Linked DNA regions of Homo sapiens: regions 2, 3 and 4 are each linked to region 1. The links are contacts of gene promoters, found by promoter capture Hi-C in blood cells and fetal thymus (Javierre and others, 2016). All regions are on one chromosome and are shown on one strand. Each heading gives the region's core, a stretch centred on a gene start or on the middle of the fragment in contact. The rest is flanking DNA. Distances are from core to core; before and after follow the strand shown.

Region 1 (7,051 bases), core at 1,750-4,249:
GATGGGGTTTCACCATATTGGCCAGGCTGGTCTCAAACTCCTGACCTTGTGATCCGCCCACCTCGGCCTCCCAAAGTTCTGGGATTACAGTGCCCAGTCATGACTACCTCTTCTATGAAACTTTCCTTGGCATTGTCTCATTCCTTGTCTCGGTGACAGTCTATTTATTGTGTGCTCCTGGCCTCAAGCAATCCTCCAGCCTCTCAGCCTCCTGAGTAGCTGGGATTACAGGCAAGAGCCACTACACCAGGTTTTAAGAGGTTTACTCGCTGGGCGTGGTGGCTCACATCTGTAATCCCAGCACTTCAGGAAGCTGAGGCAGGTGGATCACTTCAAGTCAGGAGTCGAGACCTGCCTGGCCAACATGGTGAAACCCTGTGTCTACTAAAAATACAAAAAAAAATTAGCTGGTCATGGTGGCGCACGCCTGTAATCCCAGCTACTTTGGAGGTTGAGGCAGGAGAATAACCTGAACCCAGGTGGCGGAGGTTGCAGTGAGGTGTGATCGTGCCACTGCACTCCAGCCTGGGTGACGAGCGAGTCTCCATTTCAAAAAAAAAAAAGAGGTTTACTCTTTGACAGATCTCTTCCTTACTGGGTTGAAAGCTCATTTGAAGCAAGAATTGACTTATCCACCTCCGACTCTCAGCCTCAGGCAAAGCGTTTTACATCTAACGGGGATTTGAAAATTACAATTTAATTTGGAGATGTCTCTGAATATAAATTTTTAGGAAGAGTAATCCTAGTTTATCTGTAATAAATGATGTTACTTCATAATGATTTACTGGAAGATGAAATAAAAAGTTGAGTGTATTATTATAAAATGGGGTTATTGCCAATCTAAACTTGGTAAAATTGTTTTGAAAGGAAACTTGGATTTATGTTCTTAATTTCTAGCACAGTAGTGACAGTTTTTTGTTGTTGTTTGTTCGTTTGTTTTTAAAGAACACAATGAAATAGAGGCCATGCCAATTGGGGCAGAATGAATTCCCAATTACTCTCACAGTGAATCATCTACAGGCCTCACTGCAAAAACTTGCTCTCAACAAAAATTGTAGGTCAATATTATTAGCATATCAGAGACTAAGTCATATCTAAAATAAAAATGTCTTAAATATTTTAAGAGAACAATTTTATTTTAACAGCACCTTTGGGACTAAAAACAAACAAACAAAAAATAACAAAACCCAGTGTCGTCAATATAATAGGCTCAGCTGAGAAGAGTTCTTCAGCAAGTTCTAAACAACTCAGGAAAACTAAGAATCTCTAAAGTTACAAACTAAAGGCCTGAGAAATTATCTAGAAAATGCAGGCTTAAATTAAAATTCACTTCCATTATGTGGCTTTATCAGTTCAAATGCTTACTCCTTGAGGACGAGGCCACTTCTTACACTCTTATCTGACACAGTCCACTACTGAGACCACAGTAGGGACTCACTTCATCTGTTAAATGATTAATGTTTACTCAATAATTAGATAACTGGCTGAGTTATCTCCATCTCACATTCCAAGGATAGACTTAGGGGAATCTTTTTTCTTTAAATCTAAAATGTTGATAAATGGCCCATATTATAGGCTGAATTATGTTGCCCCTAAATTCGTATGTTGAAGTCCTAGGCCCCAGGATCTCAGACTGTGATTGTATTTGGACATACAGCATTTAAAGAGTAAAGTTAAAATGGGGTTGTTAGGGTAGGCCTCTGGCCAGTATGACTGGTGTCATATAAGAAGAGGAGATTGGGACACCGAGGATACACAGAGGAAAGTCGTTGTGAAGATTCAGTGAGAAGGCAGCCACCACCCCAAGCCAAGGAGCGAGGCCTCTGAAGAAAACAACCCTGCCCACCTCTCCATTTCCAACTTTTAGTGTCTAGAACTGTAAGAAAACAAATTTCTGTTGTTTAGCCACTCTGTCTATGATGTTTTGTCATGACAGTCCCAGCAAGCTAGTACAGCCCAGGCACTGAGAACTAATTTAAAAACCCGACCTATGTGCTTAGTTCCGCATTATGCATTTTCTTGTCCCTTATTTATTTATTTTTATTTTTGAGACGGTCTCACTGATTCTGTCACCCAGGCTGGAGTGCAGTGGCTGCGATCTCAGCTCACTACAACCTCCGCCTCCCAGGTTCAAGCGATTCTCCTGCCTCAGCCTCCCCAGTAGGTGGGACTACAGGCGCCCACCACCATGCCCGGCTAATTTTTGTATTTTTAGTAGAGACGGGGTTTCGCCACTGTGGCCAGGCTGGTCTCTAACTCCTGACCTCAAGTGATCCGCCCGCCTTGGCCTCCCAAAGTGCTGGGATTACAGGCGTAAGCCAACGCGCCGGCCTGGAAGGGAAGTTTCTAAGAAAAACTACTAAGGAATTTTAAAACTATGATGTACGTGGATTGTGGAGTATTATTGTGGGCGACTAATCAGATAATGATTGCAAGAATTGATTAGCCAGCTCGAAATCGCAGCACAATTACCGCAGGGGCGATCAGCTTCCACCATCCATTCCAGGATGTTGGGAGTCGTCAATTTGGAAATGTATCAATTAAGCGGCCCCCAGAGCCTCTCGCATCTCTTGCCCGGCCCCGAGTCACCTTCCCCCAGGTGCCTCCATCTCGCTGGAAACATAGGAAGCCCGACTCAAACGCTCTATGCCTATGGTCGTTTCATGGGAAAGCAAAATTAAGGGCAACATTGAGGAAGCTCATTAATATTTAGTTTAGAAGATGCAAAGGGTTCTTCCGCGAACCTGGAAGAGCCCCCCGGGCTCGCCTCTCGCCGCGGTCCCACACTTGCCTGACCTCAACCACACTCTCCCGGTCCAGGCCCCGCTGGAGAACGTCCCACCGACTCCGGGGACAGAAAGGCCGTTTATGTAAAACGACGTTTTTCCTATTTCGCCTCCCACCCTCATGCAAATTTTGATTTTCAACTCTTCCAACCCTTCCGCACCCTGAAACAAACCTCATCTCCTTTCCTCCCTCTTCTGGCTCCGCGGGTTACTCGCCCCGCCCCCACCCTTCAGTCCCTTAGCAACGCGTCCTCGGTCCGTAGAAACCGGTTGCCGAGCTCTGCCTACCTCTGAAAGGCCTAGAGAGCAGAGTTCTCTTCTCAGAGGGGCTTCGCCCACAGACTTTTGTCACTAAAAGCCCAGGTGACTCCCCAGATGCTTACGGATATTAAAACCGATTATGCTGAAGGAGTGGAAGGAGAGTCAAGTAAAAGAAGAAGATCAAGTAAAAAGAACTGGGGAACAGTGACTTTGTTTCCCCTTATTGTACCTCCTTTCTCCTTTTGTGCTTTCCTGGAAACATCGAATTTCAAAAAGAAGCTTACAAAGTCCACCATACAGCTTGCAGGTCTGAATGGAAGTCAACAGTTTATATTTGAATATTTGATGGAAGATTGCTTTCATGGCTTATGATATTAAAAACAGCAACAACAAAAAACCATTCTTATTTCCAAGGCCAAGAAACCTCCCGTGTGGTTAGTAAAATCACCACTGTATTACGCAAGTTGTGTAGCAGACTTGGCTGCACACACACATACCACTTAGCATTTTTATGAGACATAATGGAGATACACTGACATACATTCTGCTGTATTTACTGTATCCTAAGGAACCATTTGTCCTTATTGCTCACTTGTGTGAGCAGAAAATGCACTAAGGCCATGGGAATCATTTATTTTTAGAGCCATAATCTAAAAATGACTGACTTGAAAACAGCTTGTATTTAATTTAAAATGATGGGGAATTTCACAATATTGGTTACATTTTAAGTCAGGGGTTGTTCATCATTCCAAGAATGTACCTTATCTGATGCATCAAAATAGGGGGAAAAGCTTTAAAAAACAGCACTTCAACATCTGTGAGAAGAAAAGGAAAAAAAGCACCAGAATTAATCATCACAAGTCTGTGCTAGTGGCAATGGCAAAACTGCAAAAAAAAAAAAAAAAAAAAAGTATAGTTATGTAGCAATCCAAATTTGGCTAGAAATTGATATTAATAGTCAATGCATGAAAACACTGGAATCAATTTATTTCAAATATTTAAAAAACAAAAATACAATCATTAAAAGTAGAAGGTAGTTTGATTCTTTTCTGTTGCCCAGACTGGAGCACAGTGGTGTGATCATAGCCCACTGCAGCCTCAATCGCCTGTGCTCAAGTGGTTCTCCCACCTCAGCCTCCCTAGTAGCTAGGACTACAGGTGCATGCCACTATGCCAGGCTAATTTTTTTATTTTTATTTTTTTGTAAGGACAGGGGTCTCACTATGTTGCCCAGGCTAGTCTTGAACTTCTGGTCTCAAGTGATCCTCTTGCCTTGTTCTCCCAAAGTGCTGGGATTACAGATGTGAGTAGCCACTGCGACTGGCCAAGGTAGCTTGATTCTATTATATTTTTTAAGCCATATACATTCAGGAACAATGGTTTGTATGGAATTGATAACTGGAATCTAGTTGATAGTGGTGATTTGTCTAAGATTGTTGTAATACCTTCAGCTCAAAAATTTGTACAGAGGTGAAAATTAGCTTCTTAAGAATTCAGTTCAGAAACGTTAGCTACTCATTAATCTTCAGTCAATAAAATTTGTAAAGCATGAATCTTATGAAATTCTTAGAATATTATCATTATCTCAGTTAATATTTATGGAACACGTTCTGCATGTCAGGTACTAGGCTACAACTTTAAAATAGTTCTAATTTCATCCTTTACTTTTCATTCTTAAACCTTAATTCGTATCTATGGAAAGGGTATTATCTTTGATTTTAGAAAAGACCTGACTGAAATTCAAAGAAACTATGTGATTTGCCCAGCATCTTATAATTAGTAATACAATTATTAATATAACACAAAGTACAAAGTATTTTCTCTTTAATAACAAATGTTTGGTAAATGTACACAAAAAAGAATTCAAGTGGATTTTTTCCTAACTACTTTAATTGCTCTCAGTTAAATTCAGTATTTACTGAATGAGTTCATGAACCTATTATAGATAAATACTGGGTAAAGGAGCCTAATGAATGTTTTATTTTAAAAGTATACAGATTTCTTAAAATATAAACTGTATACTATAAGAAAACAAAGAAAATAAAATCTGCAGACTTTTTCCTGCTTCCTTTGAAGTAGGCCAACTACAAAGTTAGAAAGCACATTCCCCAAAACTGCCCTTACTTCTGACACCAAGTTCAGGGGGCCGTCAAAACCCTGAATAGAACCCTCAGGTTCGATAATTTGCTAGAAAGACTCACAGACCTTACTGAAAGCTATTGTATTTAGGGTTATAGTTTATTACAGGGAAAGGTTACAGATTACAACTAGCCAAGGAAAGAAGTTCACAGGGCAGAGTCAGTCCCGAAATAACAAATGTGGAGCTTTTATTGTCCTCTTCCTGTGGAGTCAGGACAGGTTACTCCCTAGCATTGTTGAATGACAATGCACACATGGAGATCTGCCACCCGGGGAAGCTCACCCAATCATTGTGTTCAGAGTTTGTAGTGGGGCTTCATCACACAGGCATAATCGGTTGATTAACCACATGGTTAATCTCTATCTCCAAGTTGATGGATACCACGTGACCCAAAGCCCTTGCCTTAAGTCACATTGTTGATCTTTCTGGAGTGGCCAGTCCCTACTCTAAGACTATGCAGGTGTGGCCACCTCCCCATCCTAAATCACATTGTTAGACTATCTCATATGACTCAAGGTCTCCAGGCAAATAAAGCTCTTTCTATCAGGCATAACATTCCTAGGGCCCAGAGATTATATCTCAGAAGGCAAGGGCAAAGGCCGGACTTTCTTTTCTTTGGGCAAGAGAGTCTTTCCTATAAATTCTTTACTATATACCTACTAGGTTTAGAAAGTATCAAAATTTGTACTTAATCATCCCCAAATGGTGAAAAGCCTGTGATTCTCCACCCCTGCCTTCTGTCCTCTCTTGAGAAAAGAGCATTTTTTTTCCCTTGCCCTACACAAACCATGAAGCCTGGGAGAAGTGTCAGTATTCTTCACCATTCCTAATGTTCCTTTCACATCTTTAAGTTTCTTCTTCCTTAGGAAAAGCTGCCTCTTCTGAGGTTAATGACAACTATCTCCCCATACATATTTACTAACAAATTCCCAGGCATTTCTCACTTTTACAGATTTGGGGACTTTCCCAATGTTCCTTTCCATAATAAATCCATTAAGCCAATAGTTTTGCCTCAAAACTCATTATCTTTCCAGATTAAAGCTATCTTTACTTCATTATCCCCTAACTCTGAAATATTAAGCTCTAACAGGTCCTCTCTGATCACTACCTGTTATCCCTTCTGCCCATTACTTCTCTTATTCTAGATAATGTGCTAGTTGGTCACTTAATGACCTTCTGTCTCTTTTATTTGTGAATCCAATGGACGTCTTTCAGGTCCTATGTTACTTGACAATTCTTCTGAATTGGACACGTTTTACTTCTGGCTCTTTGAAACATTCCCTTCCCTTGGCTTCAATTACACAACTCTCTCCTACTTTTCTTCCTCTGCCTGCTGTAAATATCATTGTACCCTGGGATTCTTTCTTGTTTGTGTGTGTGTTTTTTTTCTCCCTTTGTTTCCTTCCTAGGCTTGACATTCCCTTCCAAATTCAGTCAAAACCATGCAGCATAGAATATAGAACTTCTACCATCTGAGCCCATTCTATGTTGAACTGAGTTCTGATTGTCTTTCTAGCTTTATCTCAGCAAACCCATGGTACAGAAAGTGACTACCTTGTAACTTAATGGGAATTTTCACAAAGTTTTGGGCTTTTTATATCTGTGTCTTTTCATGCTGTTCCCTCAGCACAGGGACTTCAGAACTTCTGCAGCCCCCTGGTTCTAAGGATGGAGAAAGTTATCTATGTTAGGCCAATGAGATCACAACACCCTGACCACAGTGACTGGCTCAGGGAGAAGCAGGTGACTAATGGGAGGCCAGTCAGGGCCCAGACAATTTTATTCCGGGACTTTGAGCCTTCAGGGAAGAAGACTTCCTCTTCTAGTCTGCCTGTTATGACAATTTGAGCCTTATGCTATGGGA
Region 2 (7,051 bases), core at 2,630-5,129, 390 kb before region 1:
TTGGCAGATAACTAATGAAATCTTATGCAAGGATTTGGAGGATTCATATAATGGAGAACTGATGTATGAGAAACAGATTTTAATTTTGGTTTGATGAAAACAAACCAATATCTGCACTTGGGATATATCAGGTGGAAAGTCAATGACTTTCATCTGTGATTTCCCTCACACACTACCATGATGACCAGTCCTACAGTATTTACTTCTAGGTGTAATATTGTTAATGGTTTTAAAATGTAATTATTGTATTTGTAAATTGTACTCTCATTCCAGTAAGGCAGTTAGACACTTGAGTTTTAGCATTTTACCATTCCTGAAATGGATGTAATTTAAACTGTGGTATGTAAATTTAATAGTAGTATTGTTGAATGGCACAATGCTTACAGAGGTAGATTGCATTTTGTCAATATATAAAATTTAAATATAATATTGATAGCTGTCATAAAGGGGGTGCCACATATTAAAGAAACTTAAGTGGAACCAGAAGAAAAAGAAACAAACTTACTTTTCTTCAATGCTTAGTATGTTTTACTCTAGTGCTAAATAAAAACTCTATCTTCAAATGTTTAGTGGGTTAAATTGAGAAACTATTTCAGAAAAAAATTCTAAGGTTACAGCATATTCAAAGAAAAGCATTAGTTACCACTTTTTAAAAAGCTTTTTTTTCAAACTGCAAATTTCATAAAAATGCAAACTGTGTAAACAGGGCCTCTTATTTTTATAACTTGTGTAAAAAGGGAAAGCAATTCATATTTAAAGTTTAAGTATATTAAATTATAATCAAGAGTAAAGAAGATGTTGAAGTCTTAACTACTTGCCCCTCTCTACAGTTTCGCAAATGTGGGGATTGCTGAATAATCAGTCAGACTAAAACCAAAATTGTGATTTTAAGATTTCAAGACTTTCCGTAGTTGAACTGGTTAAGAATTTTTGCTTAGTTACTCTGAATAGATGATCTTACTCATCCAGTATGGGGGAATGATACCTCACGTCTTCCTCTTTACCCACAGGAATCAAAACGCTGAGACTGAGAATTTTAGGGAAAAAAAAGTCCACTGTTTAGATCCAGAAGGAGAGTTTTAATCATTGTTTATATCATTTGAGAATGAAAAAATAAGCTTCATAAATGAAATTCTATTCACATTACTGTGTAATAAATTTCCTTTTGGATGATTAGGATTCATTGTATAAAACTGTAAATCTTTGCCATTCTTGGAGAAGCAAAAGGAGAGTTATCAAAAATGTATGTCGTTTCATCGTTGCAAGGTATAATAAAAACTGTAATTATTCAATCTGGCCCTGCCATATGAACATTTAGAAAGACAAACTTCTTCGGGAGTCTCAGTTGTAAAACCTTCCCTCATTAATATCTGAAAATGTTAGTCTTCCTTTAAGTCATAGAACTTATTTAAACATAAACCAATTTCTATTACAGGTTATGCTATTAAATAGCTGTAATTATTAAGTTATTATTTTTATAATTAGTTGTTAAATTTCATTTTACACCCACTCAAATTTAACAAAGAATCTTTAGCCCCTTTAAATTTTAGAATTAAATTAAATTTTTAAAGTTTTACTTCTAAAATGAGATTGTGACTGGCAATTGTTTATAGTGAAACTTTTTAAATTAATCTTTGTACTCCTCTATCAGTGCTTGCTACCAAGAGAATGTCCAAAATGATTTGTTTTACCATGGGAAAATTCTTACTATTCAACAAACTCTCAGTTGGCCCCCTACAGCAGTCTGGTGTTGAAGTTTCTTTGAACGAACTAAATATACTCATTTTATGTAAAGGTATCCAATTTGATTTTGAAACCAAAATAGAAAATGCAAAATTCTAAATTCCATGAAACATGGAATTTATGACACCAAAATCAATGGAGAGTAAGCAGCAGCAAACTGAGAATTATCCAGCATATGAATATAACAATGTGTTTTTAAGTAATCAATTCATTTAAAAAATTGAATATTAATACAAAGCATATTAAAAACATGTAAATATTACTGGTTCTCATGTCTTTGTATTTATATTTTATTTTGTTTTATTTTGTATAGATCTAGAATGAATTAGTAATTAAACACAAGGGTTTTTTTCCCAAAAAATAATTTTACTGATTTTTAAAAATTTAATTAAAAACATAGATTACAGTAATCTCTAACATTATTCAAATCTTTCTAGGGATTAAATTAGAAACTATGAAGAAATCCTATAATCTCTTAACTGGTCTTTATGGAACAGAATGGGAGTCAACAATTTCAAAATGATTGAACTATGAGTAACCAGAACCTCAATAGAAAATGTATCCCTTCACCTTTCAGAAAAGAGATCAAATAATAACACAATAAGCTGGTATCAGGGATTTGCATTTTGACATTTTGTTGTTTCTTTTTAATTTTGTAGATTATAATCTCCTGTTACATCTATATCCACAGTACTGTAGAATAAGAATTCATGTCCTGAAAATGGTCCCAGGCAATGAAAGAGTCTCAGTTATCAAAGACATTAAGTCAGATTCATTTATTCATTTTATTCCCAAGTCAGAACAAAATGAACTAGTAGGTAATAAAACTATTTTCAGTACTAGGGGTTAAAACAAAAAGAAATTGTTCTAGTTAACCAGAACACCATTTCCTGAACGTTATGATCTTTAAAAGGTTCTGCTTTAGCAAGATAAAAAGTATAAATGATGCTACTTTATTTTGGCAACATGGAAATTTTGTTTTTCTTTTCCAATAAAATCCATATTTTCGTGAAATTTTTAAAAATAAATTTGTATCAAGGATTAGTCTGAATTTTATCATAATAGAAATTTATAATTACTAAGAATTAAATTTTTAATCATTTTTAAAGCTGTGTTCTTCTCTACACCCACAGCCAAAATGGAAATTCACTGTATGGTATTTGGGAATATATTTCACCTGTAAAAGAAAGAATGTCCACAATTCAAACGGTTTTGAGTTAATAGATAGGAATCCCTCAGTCAAACTACAGAATTTTTTTTGTTTTATATATTCTTAGTCAGCAGAGTGTTTGAGCTATAATTACAAGTATTTCCACTTCTAAATCTTCTTTTAGAAAAGCAGATAACTATAATACCTTGGCTCTGCCACTGACTCCTGCCGTATGATATTGGACAAATCACTGCCCTTTTCAGTTTCTCATCTTTAGAATGGGGAGTTGGGATTGCCAGTGGTTTTCAAGCTTTTCTTAACAGCAGGGCTTTTTTTCTAATAAAATTGCACATGGAATCCTGGTAGGCAAAACAGCTCAAAGCAATGCAGGAGTTTCTCCAACAGTTTAAATTGGGGCTCCCCAGAGCATGGTTTAAATACCATAACAGTACACAATGATCTATCATGTGTCTTCCAACTCTGAAGTTCCACAGTTGTAATTTACTCAGATAAACCACCTTTTGAGGCTTTATAAGCAAACTTGTAAAAACACAGTAATTGAATGATATACAATAAAAACTGACAGAGTGTTTACCATGTACCAGTCACTAGAGATATTAGCTCATTTAATTCTCTTATCAATCAAAAAATTGTAAGTACTCTTTTTAATTCCTGTTTTACAAGTGATGACACTGAGGCTTAAATAGAATAATCTCCCCAAAATGACACGGCAGCTGAAAGTAACCCAGCTATTCTGACTGCAAAGGAAACGCCTTAATTGCTTTGTCCACCCTGAACAAAACAATCTGTTTTATGTCACTATACGTACTCCATTTGAATGCCAAGGTAGAAGGCACCATGAAAAACCATTACCAAAATAAGGATAATTCCAATAACAAAACTGTCAAAAAAGAATCACTGCTTCTCAAAATATGATTGGTATCATCACTTATTAATGTTTTGTATCATCACTTATTAATGATTTTGGCTTGGTCACCACTATGCCTGGAAGATAGTAGGCACTGATAAACATTGTTAAACACCGTAACAACACAAAATGATCTACCACATATCAATGTCTTCCATCTCTGAAATTCCATGATTCTACTTTACTCAGATATACCACCTTTTGTGGCATTATAAGGAAACATGTATAATCAAGTTCATACAAGCTATACACAGTAGGCATCGATAAATTTGTATTGACAGCATAAACTTCTAGGGATGAGATTTGGGAATATACATTTTGATAAGTGCTCCAAATTTGAGAATCATTGCTCTAGTAGATCTCTAAGGTCCTTCTTAGTTCTGACATTATATCAGATTTTAAGCATTAAATTCTAAGATGAAAACCATTTTTCTAGTCAGTTTATTTTTCATTCAGTCCACTTAATTTCCTCCAATCTTAAAAAATTTTTTTCCCTAGGAAAATCCCTATCTTTTTCTTAAAGTTACTCTGTTATACTATCTCAGTCTCAAAGTAGCCTGAAATGCATTTTCTCATTTTCATATTTCTGTCCTTTTCTTCAATGTCTTAAAAGACTTGAAGTAGAAGGGAAGTTGCAAGCTGTTATTTATTCAAATACAAAATCCTAATCAATGTTTCCTTCTTTGCAAGGGACATTCAGATCTCTAACTTGTGAGTTGAACCTATTTATTTTGTAAGCTTTTGACTTTACAAACATGTGGTAGCCTCATTCTAAAAGAGTTGCACGAATATTTTTTCTCAAAATAACCACAGGCTGTAAATTAAATTGAACAATACAGTAGAATATGCAGATACATACTAAACAGATGAGTGTGTGTGTATGTGTCTGTGTTTAAGCTTTTCCTTTTCCAAAAGATTATACATTTGAGCAAAATCCCATTCAGTCTAAATGTACTCATTTTGCCACATGGTTTTCTGATCAGCAATTTTTTTAAAAAATGGAAGTGTTACATTATATTTAATAATATCAAAACAAGAGTGATCTCTAAATATAGCTTTGAAAGTTAATATAATATGATGTGTCCATGCAATGAGTCAAATTAGATTGTTGATATAAATGAACAAATCAATCCAAGTTACATTGATTAAAGGGACTATTTGGATGACCAGCCTCACCATCTTTTACTGTGTGCACTTTCCTCTTAAGGTTTTATTGTATTTTCCCTGCTCCTTTAGGCTTTTTTTTCATGTGGAAAACAGTATCTAAATGCCATTCTCTCACTTATGAATTAAATATGGCTACCATTAATGTTCCTTTTTGTCAGTGGAGTGTATGGAAGGAAAATGAGATAGGAGTACATTGCTTAAGTCTCTAAATATTAAAAACAACAACAAAACACTTGCCTTTCTCTTGTGTCATTGCTTCAATGTTCTGTCATCTTCTGCAAGCTAGAGTTGCACTGCTGACATCTAATTAAGATCTAAATATATTTCATGAAGGAATGTCAAATGTAAAGTCTGTTGAGTTGACCATGGTGAACCTCTTGATTGGCCCTCACATTTAATATCTGATTTCTCTCCTAAATGGGTATGTCTATGAGGAAAAGACACCTATTTGTTGGCATTGACCATGGGTATAATAATTTATTCTCTAGGTTTAACTTCTAAAATTATTTTTCCTTTGATTTCTAACTGCCTCCTTCTATCCCTAGAGTAATACCTTGCCTACCTTAAATACATCTTTATCCTTGTAAAAAATGTTTTGGCAAAAAACAAATATATTTTTAAATGTCCCGTAATGTTTTAAAGAAAAGAAGTAAAGTGTATTTGGGCTATGCTCACCAATATTCCAGTATTTTACAAATTGTGTTCTGGAAGATGTTCATTGTGGTCTGAGAACAAATGGTCCTATACTATAATTCTCTCTCCTTGGACATTGACAATAAATGTTAGTGTTTTAATGAAGCTTAAGAAAGTTATTGAATCAGGTAAAAAAAATTTTTTCTAAGCACACCTTGAGAAACCTTTGGAAAAGTTTTCTTTTAACACTAGTTTATATATCCTTCAATAATTGTAAATAAAATAACCAGGAATGCTTTGAAAAAAATGCTTCTGGAATTTTGTTTTAATTTTAAGAGAATTCCTGTCATTTCAAATGAATTGTTATCTATTTTAAATTTCATTAGTATCTCTTAGTGAATTTAACTTTATCATCTAAAATATTCAAAACAAAACAATAAAATTATTTTAATTTTTGTATTATTTTTAAGGCTTGCACCTATGACCAGCATATCAGACCCCTATCTGTTGAAGATGTTTCCAATTCTTTGCCGTGTGGAATTAATGCCAGTGAATAATCTCCAGTAACGTTTTACTAAACAGCTTTAGGAAACTGAATCATGATAGATCAATGTTGACAGTATTTTTACATCAGCTTGTCAGAAATTATATTAAAAACACTTTGGGGAAAGCTAAGAGCAGTGCACTGTTTAGCACAGATTTTGTGAGATTCTATACTCTTTTAATGAGCATTTCATAGGGTTTTTTTTTTGCTGTTTTTTTTTCTTTTTTTGCTTTGCTTTACTTTGCCAATCAGTTACTTTTATACCAAATTAACGAAGTTTCTTTAAAAACTTCCTGGTTAAATTGTCTGTTATCATATAGAAAAGAATCAAACTGAATCACTTTACATTTCTCTAAAGATAGTTCAGTTTTTAATCCATCCAGAGTTTGTGAATCAGCCTGATAGATCATAAGCCATTTATAATTTTTAAACGTTCCATTGAATGAGTATATCATACAAATGTTAATTCCATCTCGCTCATTCAGTTTTACATTACTTTTATGAATTTTTTTTCTCGCAAAGTAAATGCTTGATGTTATTCATTCACCATCACTCTAAGGTATTTTAAATCATACAACAAGTAACTATCACAAGAACCACTGTCCCAAGATCCAAAGTCAGATTTTTTTCCCTTTTCAAGTTGCTAGAATGATAATTCATATAGCTGTGTTGATTTTTCAGGTCAGAATTTAGTTCTTGCTTTGTTAAATGGACATACATGAAAGAGATTGGCTCCTATCTAATTCATATTCTCTCTCTCTCTCTCTCTCTTTCTCTGTGTGTGTGTGGGGGTGTGTGTGTGTGTGTGTGTGTGTGTGTGTGTCTCTTTCCTCTCTGTCTAAGGGGAATTGGAAAATTGCTGCTGAATAATTTTTCTTGAAAAAGC
Region 3 (7,051 bases), core at 1,629-4,128, 350 kb before region 1:
TCATCTTATGTTTTCAGAAATTCTTCTCTCTTCGCTCTTGCAAATGTCTATGCAGTTTACCTTGAGTGATTGAAAATAAGAAATCTAGCTCTTACTTTTGAAAATTCTGAGGCAGGCTGTATGTCTGTACACAAAAGTTTTACTGCCAAAAACTTTGAGAAAGAAACAACACTGATATTTCAAGCAACTGGAAGCTTTTGAATTTTTTCATATTCTAGTAAAGATTTGGGGAGGGGAGGGTAGCCACAGAAAGAATCTTGTTTATCTAAAGCAGGAACTTGATCTTGGTTTTGCTGGATTGCTTTCCATAGACATAGATTCTTATTAAATATTTGTTTTGGTACTAATTATTTTAATTATTCTTTAATTAGAGTGTTACAATTTCCTGCATTGTTTTTTAATAAAAAGAAGCTTTAGAAAAACTATGGCTATATACCCTGACCAATAAATGATAGTAGAATATTCAACATGGTATACACAAATGATAAATAATGTGCCTCAGTGCTGCATATAAAAGAATACTGGTTTTCATTTTGTACTTAATAAATTGAGCAGCATTCATTAAGTGCAATTATTGTTACATGTACCTGACAGTTGAAACTGCTGAGGTAGAATTAATGGCTTCATAACAATTATCGTGGTCCCACGGGCTGCAAGCTAAAACTAGAAGCTCTTGTGGCTTGCCTGCACTTTACACAATTGTGGGAGAACCGAAAGTTGGCTCTTCAGTAATGGAAACTATAAAGTGAATAAAGGCTTTTTGGGACACTGAAGTAGACATTGTGATATTAAATATACATGATGCTTAATACTAAATGTGTCTGTAACACATAAAATCATTTATTGGAAAGAGACATTGCTTTTAAATATCCTAGGCTAACAAACTTTTTCACAAAATATATGGCTGGCACCTTAACAAATAAAGCATGTGTAGTTACCATTTTACTCCTATGAATTTAATACTAAAGTGACCCAGTGAGGTTTTTGAATAGACGGGTGCTAAAATTTACAGGGCTGAAATAGCTTATTATTCTGCTGGTTAATGTATCTTACGCCACGGATCATTTATTTTTATGAAGCTTTCAAGTCTTTGTGTGCAAGTAAAATGATGTTGTGGCGTTGTTCTTGGATGGTAAGTGGACTGCCTAGAGGACATTTGTTAAAGGTCAAAGACAAATTGTACACATATGGAGAAAATTAGCAATGCTGTAGTCTTAAGGAAAAAATGATTTATCATTCATATCAAAAAGAGTTTAGCAAATGGAAAACCAGTTAATGCTTTAATTTTAAAATGTTTTGGTGTCTTACTTTTCCCTAAAAATGACATGTAGTAAAAAATGGATACTTTTAAAATCCCTTCCCTTCTGCTATTTTCTGGCTTTTAAAGTGATTATTCAAAATGAATTTGTCAATTTTCACTTTTTTTTTTCTGTTAGTGCATTAGTGGGAATATGTCTATGTAATAATTTATCACAACCAATATTTGTCAATCTCCATAGAACAGTTTTCAATCTGGATTAGATTACACGTATAACAAGTAAATGAGCTTCATATTTTCATTACACATTGGTGAACATCTCCCTTCGTGGAACAACAGCGGGGGTAATCATATCACTAATTTTGTATGAATAAATGAAAATGAAGAAACTTCTTTAACATATACAAAGTCTATTGTAACAATGACTGTTTGTTTTAGAGTTCTAAATTCTAATCCATGAGATAATTTCTTACTGTCTTCCCCAGGCTGTGTTGAGAATCGAAACTGCAAAACATGACGGCAGTTAAAAAACAAAAAAGAAAGCAGTTTGCCAGCATATTGCTACACACTGTAATTCAGATACTCAGTGATGAATTCTAGCAATTATATAGCAGTATAAGAATACATAGTAAAAACTCACTCCTTGCAACTAACTTGGGAGAAGCTAGTTATCACACAGAACTTTATCATGAGAAATTTTTAATGAAATTATCACACAGAACCTTATCATGAGAAATTTTTAAAACAATGACACTATAAATTTGAAGGAATTGTTTTACTTTGAAATGCCCTGAACTTCCCTGGTATTTTTTTCCTCTCCTAAAGTGCCATCCTTCTTCCCAGACCAGCCATGCCCATCCCTGCTCCAGAGCCTTCACTCATGCTTTCCTACCTTGGAACACCCCCTCCCACTTAAGCCACTTTCTTCGCTTTTCAGGGTCACATTCAGGTCTTACCTTTTCTCTCAGTCCTTCTCTATTCACTGCTTGCCTCCTGCTCTCTCTCTCCTCTGATTATTCTCGTGGTTGAGCTCTTGATTGTTCTCTAGCTAACTTTTGAATTCTAGTTTTGTTTCCCTTACTATTAATAGACTGAAGACATATTGAGGACATGGACCACATAACTTGACAGTGCCTAGAAATAAAAATCATTTTTACTTTTAAAGTTATCATTATGTGCATTGCACTGTGCTACATAACTCCCAGCTGCATAGATAATAGCAAACACAGTTCAACCCCTGAGGAACTAGGATCCTATAGGGGTGAAAAGAGAAGTACACAAGTGACCACAGTATAGGCTCAAATATGTTGTCATAAGAAAAATCCAGAATACATTTATCCAATTAACAGAATCAAGGAAGCCTTCATGAAAGGAAAGAAAATTTAAGCTAGACTGTGATGGAGAGATTAGAATTTCAACAGGCAGAAGATTACAGGAAGCCTAGGCTGGATAAAACACAGTGTTCACGAAGATAAGTGGTTAGAACTAAGATTAGAAGGAAGATGGCCAAATAGGAACAGCTCCGGTCTACAGCTCCCAGCGTGAGCAACGCAGAAGATGGGTGATTTCTGCATTTCCATCTGAGGTACCGGGTTCATCTCACTAGGGAGTGCCAGACAGTGTGTGCAGGACAGTGGGTGAAGCACACTGGGTGCGAGCCAAAGCAGGGCGAGGCATTGCCTCACTCGGGAAGCGCAAGGGGTCAGGGAGTTCCCTTTCCTAGTCAAAGAAAGGGGTGACAGATGGTACCTGGAAAATCAGGTCACTCCCACCCTAATACTGCGCTTTTCCAATGGGCTTAAAAAAATGGCACACCAGGAGATTATATCCCACACCTGGCTCAGAGGGTCCTAAACCCACGGAGTCTCGCTGATTGCTAACACAGCAGTCTGAGATCAAACTGCAAGGCAGCAGTGAGGCTGGGGGAGGGGCGCCTGCCATTGCCCAGGCTTGATTAGGTAAATAAAGCAGCCGGGAAGCTCGAACTTGGTGGAGTCCACCACAACTCAAGGAGGCCTGCCTGCCTCTGTAGGCTCCACCTCTGGGGGCAGGGCACAGACAAACAAAAAGATAGCAGTAACCTCTGCAGACTTAAATGTCCCTGTCTGACAGCTATGAAGAGAGTAGTGGTTCTCCCAGCATGCAGCTGGAGATCTGAGAGCGGGCAGACTGCCTCCTCAAGTGGGTCCCTGACCCCCGAGCAGCCTAACTGGGAGGCACCCCCCAGTAGGGGCAGACTGACACCTCACATGGTCGGGTACTTCTCTGAAATAAAACTTCCAGAGGAACGATCAGGCAGCAGCATTTGCAGATCACCAATATCCACTGTTCTACAGCCACTGCTGTTCTACAGCCACCGCTGTTCTACAGCCACCGCTGTTCTGCAGCCACCGCTGCTGATACCCAGGCAAACAGGGTCTGGAGTGGACCTCTAGCAAACTCCAACAGACCTGCAGCTGAGGGTCCTGTCTGTTAGAAGGAAAACTAACAAACAGAAAGGACATCCACACCAAAAATCCATCTGTACATCGCCATCATCAAAGACCAAAAGTAGATAAAACCACAAAGATGGGGAAAAAACAGAGCAGAAAAACTGGAAACTCTAAAAAGCGAGCGCCTCTCCTCCTCCAAAGGACCGCAGCTCCTCACCAGCAATGGAACAAACCTGGATGGAGAATGACTTTGACAAGCTGAGAGAAGACTTCAGATGATCAAACTACTCTGAGCTACAGGAGGAAATTCAAACCAATGGCAAAGAAGTTAAAAACTTTGGAAAAAAAGTTAGATGAATGGATACCTAGAATAACCAATGCAGAGAAGTCCTTAAAGGAGCTGGTGGAGCTGAAAGGCAAGGCTCGAGAACTACGTGAAGAATGCAGAAGCCTCAGGAGCCGATGTGATCAACTGGAAGAAAGGGTATCAGTGATGGAAGACGAAATGAATGAAATGAAGCGAGAAGGAAGTTTAGAGAAAAAAGAATAAAAAGAAATGAACAAAGCCTCCAAGAAATATGGGACTATGTGAAAAGACCAAATTTACATCTGATTGGTGTACCTGAAAGTGACAGGGAGAATGGAACCAAGCTGGAAAAAACTCTGCAGGATATTATCCAGGAGAGCTTCCCCAATCTAGCAAGGCAGGCCAACATTCAGATTCAGGAAATACAGAGAATGCCACAAAGATACTCCTCGAGAAGAGCAACTCCAAGACACATAATTGTCAGATTCACCAAAGTTGAAATGAAGGAACAAATGTTAAGGGCAGCCAGAGAGAAAGGTCAGGTTACCCACAAAGGGAAGCCCATCAGACTAACAGCAGATCTCTCGGCAGAAACTCTACAAGCCAGAAGAGAGTGGGGGCCAATATTCAACATTCTTAAAGAAAAGAATTTTCAACCCAGAATTTCATATCCAGCCAAATTAAGCTTCATAAGTGAAGGAGAAATAAAATCCTTTACAGACAAGCAAATGCTGAGAGATTTTGTCACCACCAGGCCTGCCCTAAAAGAGCTCCTGAAGGAAGCACTAAACATGGAAAGGAACAACCAGTACCAGCCACTGCAAAAACATGCCAAAATGTAAAGATCATCAAGGCTAGGAAGAAACTGCATCAACTACCAAGCAAAATAACCAGCTAACATCATAATGACAGGACCAAATTCACACATAACAATATTAACTTTAAATGTAAATGGGCTAAATGCTCCATTTAAAAGACACAGACTGGCAAATTGGATAAACAGTCAAGACCCATCAGTGTGCTGTATTCAGGAAACCCATCTCACATGCAGAGACACACATAGGCTCAAAATAAAGGGATGGAGGAAGATCTACCAAGCAAATGGAAAACAAAAAAAGACAGGGGTTGCAATCCTAGTCTCTGGTAAAACAGACTTTAAACCAACAAAGATCAAAAGAGACAAGGAAGGCCATCACATAGTGGTAAAGGGATCAATTCAACAAGAAGAGCTAACTATATATATGCACCCAATACAGGAGCACCCAGATTTATAAAGCAAGTCCTTAGTGACCTACAAAGAGACTTAGACTCCCACACAATAATAATGGGAGAATTTAACACCCCACTGTCAACATTAGACAGATCAACGAGACAGAAAGTTAACAAGGATACCCAGGAATTGAACTCAGCTCTGCACCAAGCGGACCTAATAGACATCTACAGAACTCTCCACCCTAAATCAACAGAATATATATTCTTTTCAGCACCACACCACACCTATTCCAAAATTGACCACATAGTTGGAAGTAAAGCACTCCTCAGCAGATGTAAAAGAACAGAAATTATAACAAACTGTCTCTCAGACCACAGTGCAATCAAACTAGAACTCAGGATTAAGAAACTCACTCAAAACCGCTTAACTACATGGAAACTGAACAACCTGCTCCTGAATGACTACTGGGTACATAACGAAATGAAGGCAGAAATAAAGATGTTCTTTGAAACCAACGAGAACAAAGACACAACATACCCGAATCTCTGGGACACATTCAAAGCAGTGTGTAGAGGGAAATTTATAGCACAAAATGCCCACAAGAGAAAGCAGGAAAGATCCAAAATTGACACCCTAACATCACAATTAAAAGAACTAGAAAAGCAAGAGCAAACACATTCAAAAGCTAGCAGAAGGCAAGAAATAACTAAAATCAAAGCAGAACTGAAGGAAATAGAGACACAAAAAACCCTTCAAAAAAATTAATGAATCCAGGAGCCGGTTTTTTGAAAAGATCAACAAAACTGATAGACCGCTGGCAAGACTAATAAAGAAGAAAAGAGAGAAGAATCAAATAGATGCAATAAAAAATGATAAAGGGGATATCACCACTGATCCCACAGAAATACAAACTACCATCAGAGAATACTACAAACACCTCTACGCAAATAAACTAGAAAATCTAGAAGAAATGGATAAATTCCTCGACACATACACCCTCCCAAGACTAAACCAGGAAGAAGTTGAATCTCTGAATAGACCAATAACAGGATCTGAAATTGTGGCAATAATCAATAGCTTACCAACCAAAAAAAGTCCAGGACCAGATGGATTCACAGCTGAATTCTACCAGAGGTACAAGGAGGAGCTGGTACCACTCCTTCTGAAACTATTCCAATCAATAGAAAAAGAGGAAATCCTCCCTAACTCATTTTATGAGGCCAGCATCATCCTGATACCAAAGCCTGGCAGAGACACAAACAAAAAAGAGAATTTTAGACCAATATCCTTGATGAACATTGATGCAAAAATCCTCAATAAAATACTGGCAAAATGAATCCAGCAGCACATCAAAAAGCTTATCCACCATGATCAAGTGGGCTTCATCCCTGGGATGCAAGGCTGGTTCAACATATGCAAATCAATAAATGTAATCCAGCATATAAACAGAGCCAAAGACAAAAACCACATGATTATCTCAATAGATGCAGAAAAGGCCTTTGACAAAATTCAACCACCCTTCATGCTAAAAACTCTCAATAAATTATCTATTGATGGGACGTATCTCAAAATAATAAGAGCTATCTATGACAAACCCACAGCCAATATCATACTGAATGGGCAAAAACTGGAAGCATTCCCTTTGAAAACTGGCACAAGACAGGGGTGCCCTCTCTCACCACTCCTATTCAACATAGTGTTGGAAGTTCTGACCAGGGCAATTAGGCAGGAGAAGGAAATGAAGGCATTCAATTAGGAAAAGAGGAAGTCAAATTGTCCCTGTTTGCAGATGACATGATTGTATATCTAGAAAACCCCATTGTCTCAGCCCAAAATCTCCT
Region 4 (7,051 bases), core at 1,177-3,676, 350 kb after region 1:
TTGGAAGCTATAACTTTGGGCATATTACTTAACTGCTCTGTACCTGAGTTTTTTATCTGTAAAGCAGGCCTTTAAAAAACAATCTACCTCATAGGATTATTGTGAGAATTTAATAAGTCAATGTTAGTTAAGTGCTAGAGCTAAGTACCTATCACATAAACATTCAACAAATGTGTTGCTGTCATTGTCACAGGTAAGCTACTGTACCCCACTCATACCTCAGATGGCAGTGAAGGTGGGGATATACACTCCCTGGGCAGGGTTCTCCCTGAAGTCAGGGTATAGCTTGAATTACATACTTTAATTCAGAAGCCATTTTTATACCAGGCTTGGTTGGACACTTTACTTACATCATTGGCTTTGATCTTCCCAACAAACTTAAGAAGAATTATTGCCCCCATTTTATACACATAGTAACTCAGGTTTAAAGACATCAACTGACTTACCCAACCCCGTGAAGCTACTACTATTCCTAGGCCCATCCCTGAGATCCTGATCCAGTAGGTCAAGGTAAGGTCCACGAATCTGTATTGCAGTTTCTATCCTCCACTCCTTCCTCCTGCTTCCAAGTTCTTTTTCTTTTTCTTTTTTTAAAAATAGAGATGGGGCCAGACACGGTGGCTCATGCCTGTAATCCCAGCACTTTGGGAGGCCGAGGCAGTCAGATTACCTGAGGTCAAGAGTTCAAGACCAGTCTGCCCAACATGGTGAAACCTTGTCTCTACTAAAAATACAAAAATTAGCTGGGCATGGTGGTGGCTGCCTGTAATCCCAGCTACTTGGGAGGCTGAGGCAGGAGAATCACTTGAACCCGGGAGGCAGAGGTGTGCCAAGATCACGCCACTGCACTCCAGCTTGGGCAACAGAGTGAAACTGTGTCTCAAAAACAAACAAACAAACAAACAAAATCGAGATGAGTTCTCACTATGTTGCACGGGCTGATCTCAAACTCCTGTTCTCAAGCAATCCTTCTGCCTCGGCCTCCCAAAGTGCTAAGATTACAGGTGTGAGCTACAGTGCCTGACTCCACTTCTCAACTTTGAAAAGAGTGACCCCTTTACTATACGTTGGATAACTTTGGCCTAGATGATCTCAAAGGCTCTCTCTGTCTGCAAAGTCTGTAAAGATGAGAAAGTCCATATATGCAAAGCGGACAGTTTAGTGAGGAAGGCAGTTAATGTAAACATAAAAACATGTTTTTAATAAGTGAACTAATCCAGTTCACACCACTGGTTCCTTGATACAGTCATTCTCTAACAAGCAAAATGGGGCTGAAAGTATGCTGAACTGATGTAAGGTGTGCTGAGCTTTGACAGGTTCACTGCACCTTCACAGAGTACCTTGGACCTTTCACAAATACGTGTTCTGTTCATCCTCTCATCTTAGAGGTATCCAAGAACAGGACCTCGTCTTCGAGGTACCACCACTAGAGATAGCCTTCCCAGGGGCTGCCAGCTTTAAACTCTACAAAGCCTATGACATCATTTGGAATCAAAGTGGAAAAGTCATGGTAATAGTAGTTGTAATCAAATCAGTTAGGAATCTTTTGGTGACACATGTCAGAAAATCCAACCCAAAAATGACATGACCTAAGCTGGGCACAATGGCTTATGCCTGTAATACCAGCATTTTGGGAGGCTGAGGTGGGTGGATCACTTAACGTTAGGAGTTCGAGACCAGCGTGGGCAACATGGCGAAACCCTGCCTCTACCAAAAATACCAAAAAATACAGCCGGGTGTGGTGGTGTGTGCCTGTAGTCCCAGCTACTCTGGAGGCTGAGGTGGGAGGATCGCTTGAACCTGGAGGCAGAGGTTGCAGTGAGCCGAGATTATGCCACTACACTCCAGCCTGGGTGATGGAGTGAGAGTTTTTCTTAAAAAAGAAAAAAAAAGAGGCTGGCACAGTGCCTTGTGTCTGTAATCCCAGCTACTCGGGAGGCTGAGGCACGAGAATCACTTGAACCCGGAAGGCAGAGGTTGCAGTGAGCTAAGATTGTGCCACTGCACTGCAGCCTGGGTGACAGAGCGAGACTCCATCTCAAAAAAAAAAAAAAAAAAAAAAAAAAAAGAAAAGAAAACAGTGGAGGCTCTTGCTGAACGTAGAGTAAAGGAATGTTGCCAATAAATTTCAACAACAAACCTTTGAGCTCTTACTATGTGCCACACTCTGTGCTAAGCACACTAGGTGCATGACCCCATTTGATCTGTATAAATGACTCAAGAGGGATGCATTCAGATTAACCTCATATAATGGACGAAGAAGCCAAGGCTCAGAGACGTTAGGTAACATGTTCAAGGTCACATAGCTAGTAAGTGGTAGAGCTGCGTTTGAGCTAGTTCTCTCTGATTCAACATCTATTCTTGTTCCATTTTATGAAGCTGCCTGGGGCATCAGCTTCCTCTAAGGCATATAGACTGGAAACATCAGAGTCTTTCTCAACATTTCTTCTTCATTTTCTACATCCAGTTAGTCATCAAATTCAGTGGATCCTACTTCCACCAGGTTTTGTGCTGTCTGTTTCCATGTTTGGTTCCCATTGCCACTGCCCTAGATAAGGACTTGGTCACTTCTTCCTGGACTATTAAAATAGTTTACTCTTTTCTCAGAGACTCCACACAGGTGGTCTGAGAGTCATTTTAACTTACAAGTTCATACTTAAAAGTTAGAGTCCTGGGCGAGGCACAGTGGCTCTTGCCTGTAATTCCGGCACTTTGGGAGGCCGAGGTGGGCAGACAGCTTGAGCCCAGGAGTTTGAGACCAGCCTGGGAAACATGGTGAAACCCCATCTCTACTGAAAATACAAAAATCAGCCAGGTGTGGTGGCACGTGCTTGTAGTCCCAGCTACTTGGGAGGCTGAGGTGAGAAAATCCTTTGAACCAGGGAGTTTGAGGCTGCAGTGAGCTGTGATCGCGCCACTGTACTCCAGCCTGGATGACAGGGCAAGACCCCGTCTCCCAAGAAAAAATAAATAAATTTAAAAAATTAAAATTAAATTAAATTAATTAAAAATAAAAATTTTAAACAAGTTAGCATCTCATGAAAATCTGTATTGTTTGGCTTTCCCTGAAAAATGGAAAAATCTGATAACACTGGACTCATAATCTACATGGCAGCATTGGCTGGAACTGAGCAGCGGCAGCCCACTGATGAGAAGGTATGTGTGGTTCAGTTGACCAGGTACCTATTGCAATTTTGTTCCTTGTCTGCCCTCTGTAGGCATCTGAGTGTGCAAACCTAGTAGTTAGTCTCTCCCCATTTAAACCCATCCTCCTGTAGACCCTGCAGTTATCTTCCTAAACCATGATCTCAGTATTCTGAGTATTTCATACTCAATTTTCAGATCATATTTATTTATTTGTAGAGACAAGATCTTGCTCTGTCCCAGGGTGCTGTGGTGTGATCATAGCTCACTGCAGCCTCAAACCTCTGGGCTTACCCAATCCTCCCATTTCCGTCTCCCAAGTAGCTAGGACTACAGGTGTGTGCCACCATGCCCAGCTAAGTTTTTAATTCTTTGGAGAGACAGGGTCTCATTATGTTGCCCAGACTGGTCTCAAACTCCTGGCCTCCAGCAATCCTCTTGCCTTGGCCTCCCAGAGTGAAAGAATTACAGGTGTGAGCCACCGTGCCCAGCCGCAATTTTCACATTTCATAGTTCCTCATTGACTACAGATTCATTACACACTTGGTCCCAATCTACTTTTCCAGGCCTATCTCCAACTGTGCCCACATGTCCTCTGCTTCAGCCACATCCTTCTAGAATCTGCTCAACACCCCTTCTCCCACAGGGTTTGCTCAAGCCTCATTCTCTGGGCCTCTAATGTGCTTTCTTGGTCCTCTCTGTGCCTCCTCAAATCCACTCTTTGAATGATGCCCACATGACTTTCAATGACCAGTTTGATTCCTACCTCTTCCAAGAAGCCTTGGGTCTTTTCGATTTATTTATTTGTCTATTTTTAAATTTGAGACAAGGTCCCACTCTGTCACCCAGGCTGGAGTGCAGTGGTGCGATCACAGCTCACTGCAACCTCCGCCTCCCGGGTTCGAGTGATCCTCCCACCTCAGCCTCTGGAGTAGCTGGGACGACAGGCACATGCCACCACACCTGGCTATATTTCTTTGTATTTTTGGTAGAGACATGGTTTCGCCATGTTGCCCAGGCTGGTCTCAAACTCCTGAGCTGGGATTACAGGTGTGAGCCACTGCACCCGTCCCATGTTTTGTGAATTTTACCACATCTGGGGAAAAAGAGTGAGCTAACGTCTATCAGGCACACAAAGCAAGGCATGGGGTTGGGGTTTGATAGGAGGTGGGGAGGAGATTTCTGGTAAAGAAAGCAAGGTTGGGAACCAGTGAGGTAGCTCAGAAAGGCTGGTGTTATAAAGTGCTTGAGGTTGCCGGGGGCAAGGCCTGGGCCTCAGAGCAGCCAACTAAGGTTCCAGAGGCAGATGGGAAGCACATAGCCTTAGAAGCCCTTCCCAGTAGCTCAGACTCTGTCCTGCAGGGAATGGGGCACTGGTAACAACTTTCAGGAGGCCTGCAATGTGCTATGAGTGTGCTTTTTCTTCCCCTTTTTCTGTTGAGACAGGGTTTCACTCTGTCACTCACAGGCTGGAGCGCAGTGGCATGATGATGGCTCACTGCAGCATTGACGTCCTGGGCTCAAGTGATCCTCTCACTTCAGCCTCCCGATTAGCTGGGAACACAAGTGTGTGCCACTGTGTCCAACTATTTTTTGTTGTTGTTGGTAGAGATGGAGTCTTGCTATGTTGCCCAGACTGGTCTTGAACTCCTGGGCTCAAGGGATCCTCCCACTTTGGCCTCCCAAAGTGCTGAATCACCACACACGCTCAAGTGTGCTTTTTAAGAAAGATCAAGCCTTCCAGTGTAATTTAATGATAAAAAAAAGAAGGAAAGATCAAGCTTATTCCCTTATGCAGGAGGGTAAAATTAGCAGAAATGTGGAGACAATAAGGAAATTATTTTAACAAGCCAGGTGAGAGTTAGCAAGGAGCTGAGAATGTGACCATCATCACATGCTACAGAGCAGGATATCTATGTCATTTTTGTTTGTTAATTTCATTCATTCATTTAAAAATTCTTTTAATGAATGAAAGCAGGTTTCCATTTTGTGCCAGGCCCATTATTTGCTGGTGCTGAGGACATAGCTGTGGACGACACAGGCATGGCTCTGGTCGTTCTAGAGCAGACAGTGTGGCCAGGAAGGCAGACAATAAACTCATGATGATACAATTGATGAATTACAATTGTGAGAGGTGTTATTAAAGGACAAAGTCAAGGTGCTAGCTCCTGCTGTGACTTGCACACTGCCCTGCAGTCAGACAGCCCTAGGTTCAAAGCCTGGTTTCTCTACCACTCAGGGGAGAGGCCTAGAGCTAGTTTCTCAGGCTCTTCCAGCCTCGGTTGCCTCATCTGAAAAAGTGGGTAGCAACAGCATGCACCCACAGGGTGGCTAAGAAGGATTAAGCTTAGCACTGTAGATGGAACTGTCCACGAGTGCCTCACAGGCAGCAGAAGCTCAAGAGGGGTTAATTGACTCTTCCGCAAGGTGGGCACGATAAATCCTGGTTGGATAGAATCATGTAATTAACCTTGAACCCATCAGTCCCTGGCAATGTGACTGAAGATCTTGAGGCATGCTGATCTGAAGCATATAAAGTAGCCAGTTTCTGCCGGGCGCAGTGGCTCACGCCTGTAATCCCAGCACTTTGAGAGGCTGAGGTGGGCAGATCACTTGAGGTCAGGAGTTTGAGACCAACCAACCTGGCACATGGTGAAATCCTATCTCCGCTAAAAATACAAAAATCAGCCGGGCATGATGACACGTGCCCATAGTCCCAGCTACTAGGGAGGCCAAGGCAGAAGAATCGCTCAAACCCAGGAGTAGGAGGTTACAGTGAGCCGAGATGGTGCCACTGCACTCCAGCCTGGGCAATAGAGTGAGACTCCATCTAAAATAAATAAATAAGTAAGTAAATAAATAAATAAATAAAGTAGCCAGTTGATCTGTGAATAAGCCCTTTAGAAAAGCTCATTTTTGAGAACAGCAGGTCTGCTTCAACATTGTGAAAAGTGCTAGCCTCCCTCTGTTCCACCCTCAACCCCCAAACAAGGCTTCTGCCAGGCATGTAGGAAACAGCCCTGGGTTTTGGTTTCTCCCAACGGTTCATCCCCTAAGGGGGAAGACATTCCCTGGCATATTAAAAAATATCCCTTTTGCAGGGCGTGGTGGCTCACACCTGTAATCCCAGCACTTTGGGAGGCGGAGGTGGGTGGATCGCCTGAGGTTAGGAGTTCGAGACCAGCCTGACCAACATGGTGAAACCCCGTTTCTACTAAAAATACAAAAGTAGTCGGGTGTGTTGGTGCATGCTTGTAATCTCAGCTACTCCGGAAGCTGAGACAGGAGAATCACTTGAACCGGGCAGGCAGAGGTTGCAGTGAGCCAAGATGGTCCATTGCACTCCAGCCTTGGTGACAGAGCAAGACTCTGTCTCAAAAAAAAAAAAAAAAAAAAAAAATTCCTTTTTTGACCTTCAGAGGCCAATGTGTCCATATTCTTTGTAACTCCAGTGGAATTTATATCTGCCAAGGTCTTTCTCTTAGAAGGTTCAGGCCTAGTCATAAACACCCTTAAACACTTCTGTCTTCATCCAACAGGCATAGATTGAATATTTGATTGACATGTGCCAGTCACTGTACTAGGTGCTGGGATTATAATACAGAAAATAATGAGACCCATCCCAGCCTCAAAGGCATCCTAACCTTGTGGGACGTTAGAAACATAAATGAATCAGTGCTATCTTTGTTTTAAGGGCTAGAATCAAAATTGCACAGGCCATAGGGTGAGTGCACAGAGGCAAACCAAGGCACCTTGCCTCGGGGAACATTCCAGGCTGTCAGACCAAGACCAGGCTCTGGTATCTAGCTCTTGATCTGCTGCTTGATGATAATAACTGTTACTTATTGACCACGACTATGCCCAAGTCCGTTATTTATGAATCAGAAGATTTCACATTGAAATTTTG

Evidence for each region. The method cuts DNA at HindIII sites, captures the fragments that hold promoters and counts their contacts. A CHiCAGO score of 5 or more calls a contact.
Region 2: a fragment that was not itself captured here is called in contact with the fragment with the promoter of C1orf141 in region 1 in 6 of 17 cell types (total CD8 T cells, total CD4 T cells, naive CD4 T cells and 3 more); the score reaches 7.7 in total CD8 T cells.
Region 3: a contact is called between a fragment that was not itself captured here and the fragment with the promoter of C1orf141 in region 1, in 1 of 17 cell types (naive CD4 T cells). The highest score is 5.1, in naive CD4 T cells.
Region 4: a contact is called between a fragment that was not itself captured here and the fragment with the promoter of C1orf141 in region 1, in 2 of 17 cell types (naive CD8 T cells and activated CD4 T cells). The highest score is 5.6, in naive CD8 T cells.

The regions. Positions count from the first base shown.
Region 1 is chr1:67,131,971-67,139,021 of GRCh38, forward strand. C1orf141 (chromosome 1 open reading frame 141) reads right to left here and starts at 3,000. Exons shown (of 8, transcript NM_001276351.2): 1 at 2,960-3,000. It also overlaps a transcript of IL23R not described here. RefSeq lists an enhancer at 5,233-5,743. The HindIII fragment of the contact is 7,094 bases long and covers 1-3,324 here.
Region 2 is chr1:66,743,081-66,750,131 of GRCh38, forward strand. SGIP1 (SH3GL interacting endocytic adaptor 1) reads left to right here. Exons shown (of 25, transcript NM_032291.4): 25 at 1-7,051. The coding sequence ends at 15. Among named protein-coding and RNA genes, the nearest start is that of DYNLT5, 5.9 kb to the right of the region's middle. The HindIII fragment of the contact is 1,356 bases long and covers 3,202-4,557 here.
Region 3 is chr1:66,777,386-66,784,436 of GRCh38, forward strand. DYNLT5 (dynein light chain Tctex-type family member 5) reads left to right here. Exons shown (of 5, transcript NM_152665.3): 5 at 1-1,662. The coding sequence ends at 69. Among named protein-coding and RNA genes, the nearest start is that of INSL5, 20 kb to the right of the region's middle. The HindIII fragment of the contact is 3,603 bases long and covers 1,078-4,680 here.
Region 4 is chr1:67,486,638-67,493,688 of GRCh38, forward strand. No RefSeq gene overlaps it. Among named protein-coding and RNA genes, the nearest start is that of LINC01702, 32 kb to the right of the region's middle. The HindIII fragment of the contact is 4,993 bases long and covers 1-4,923 here.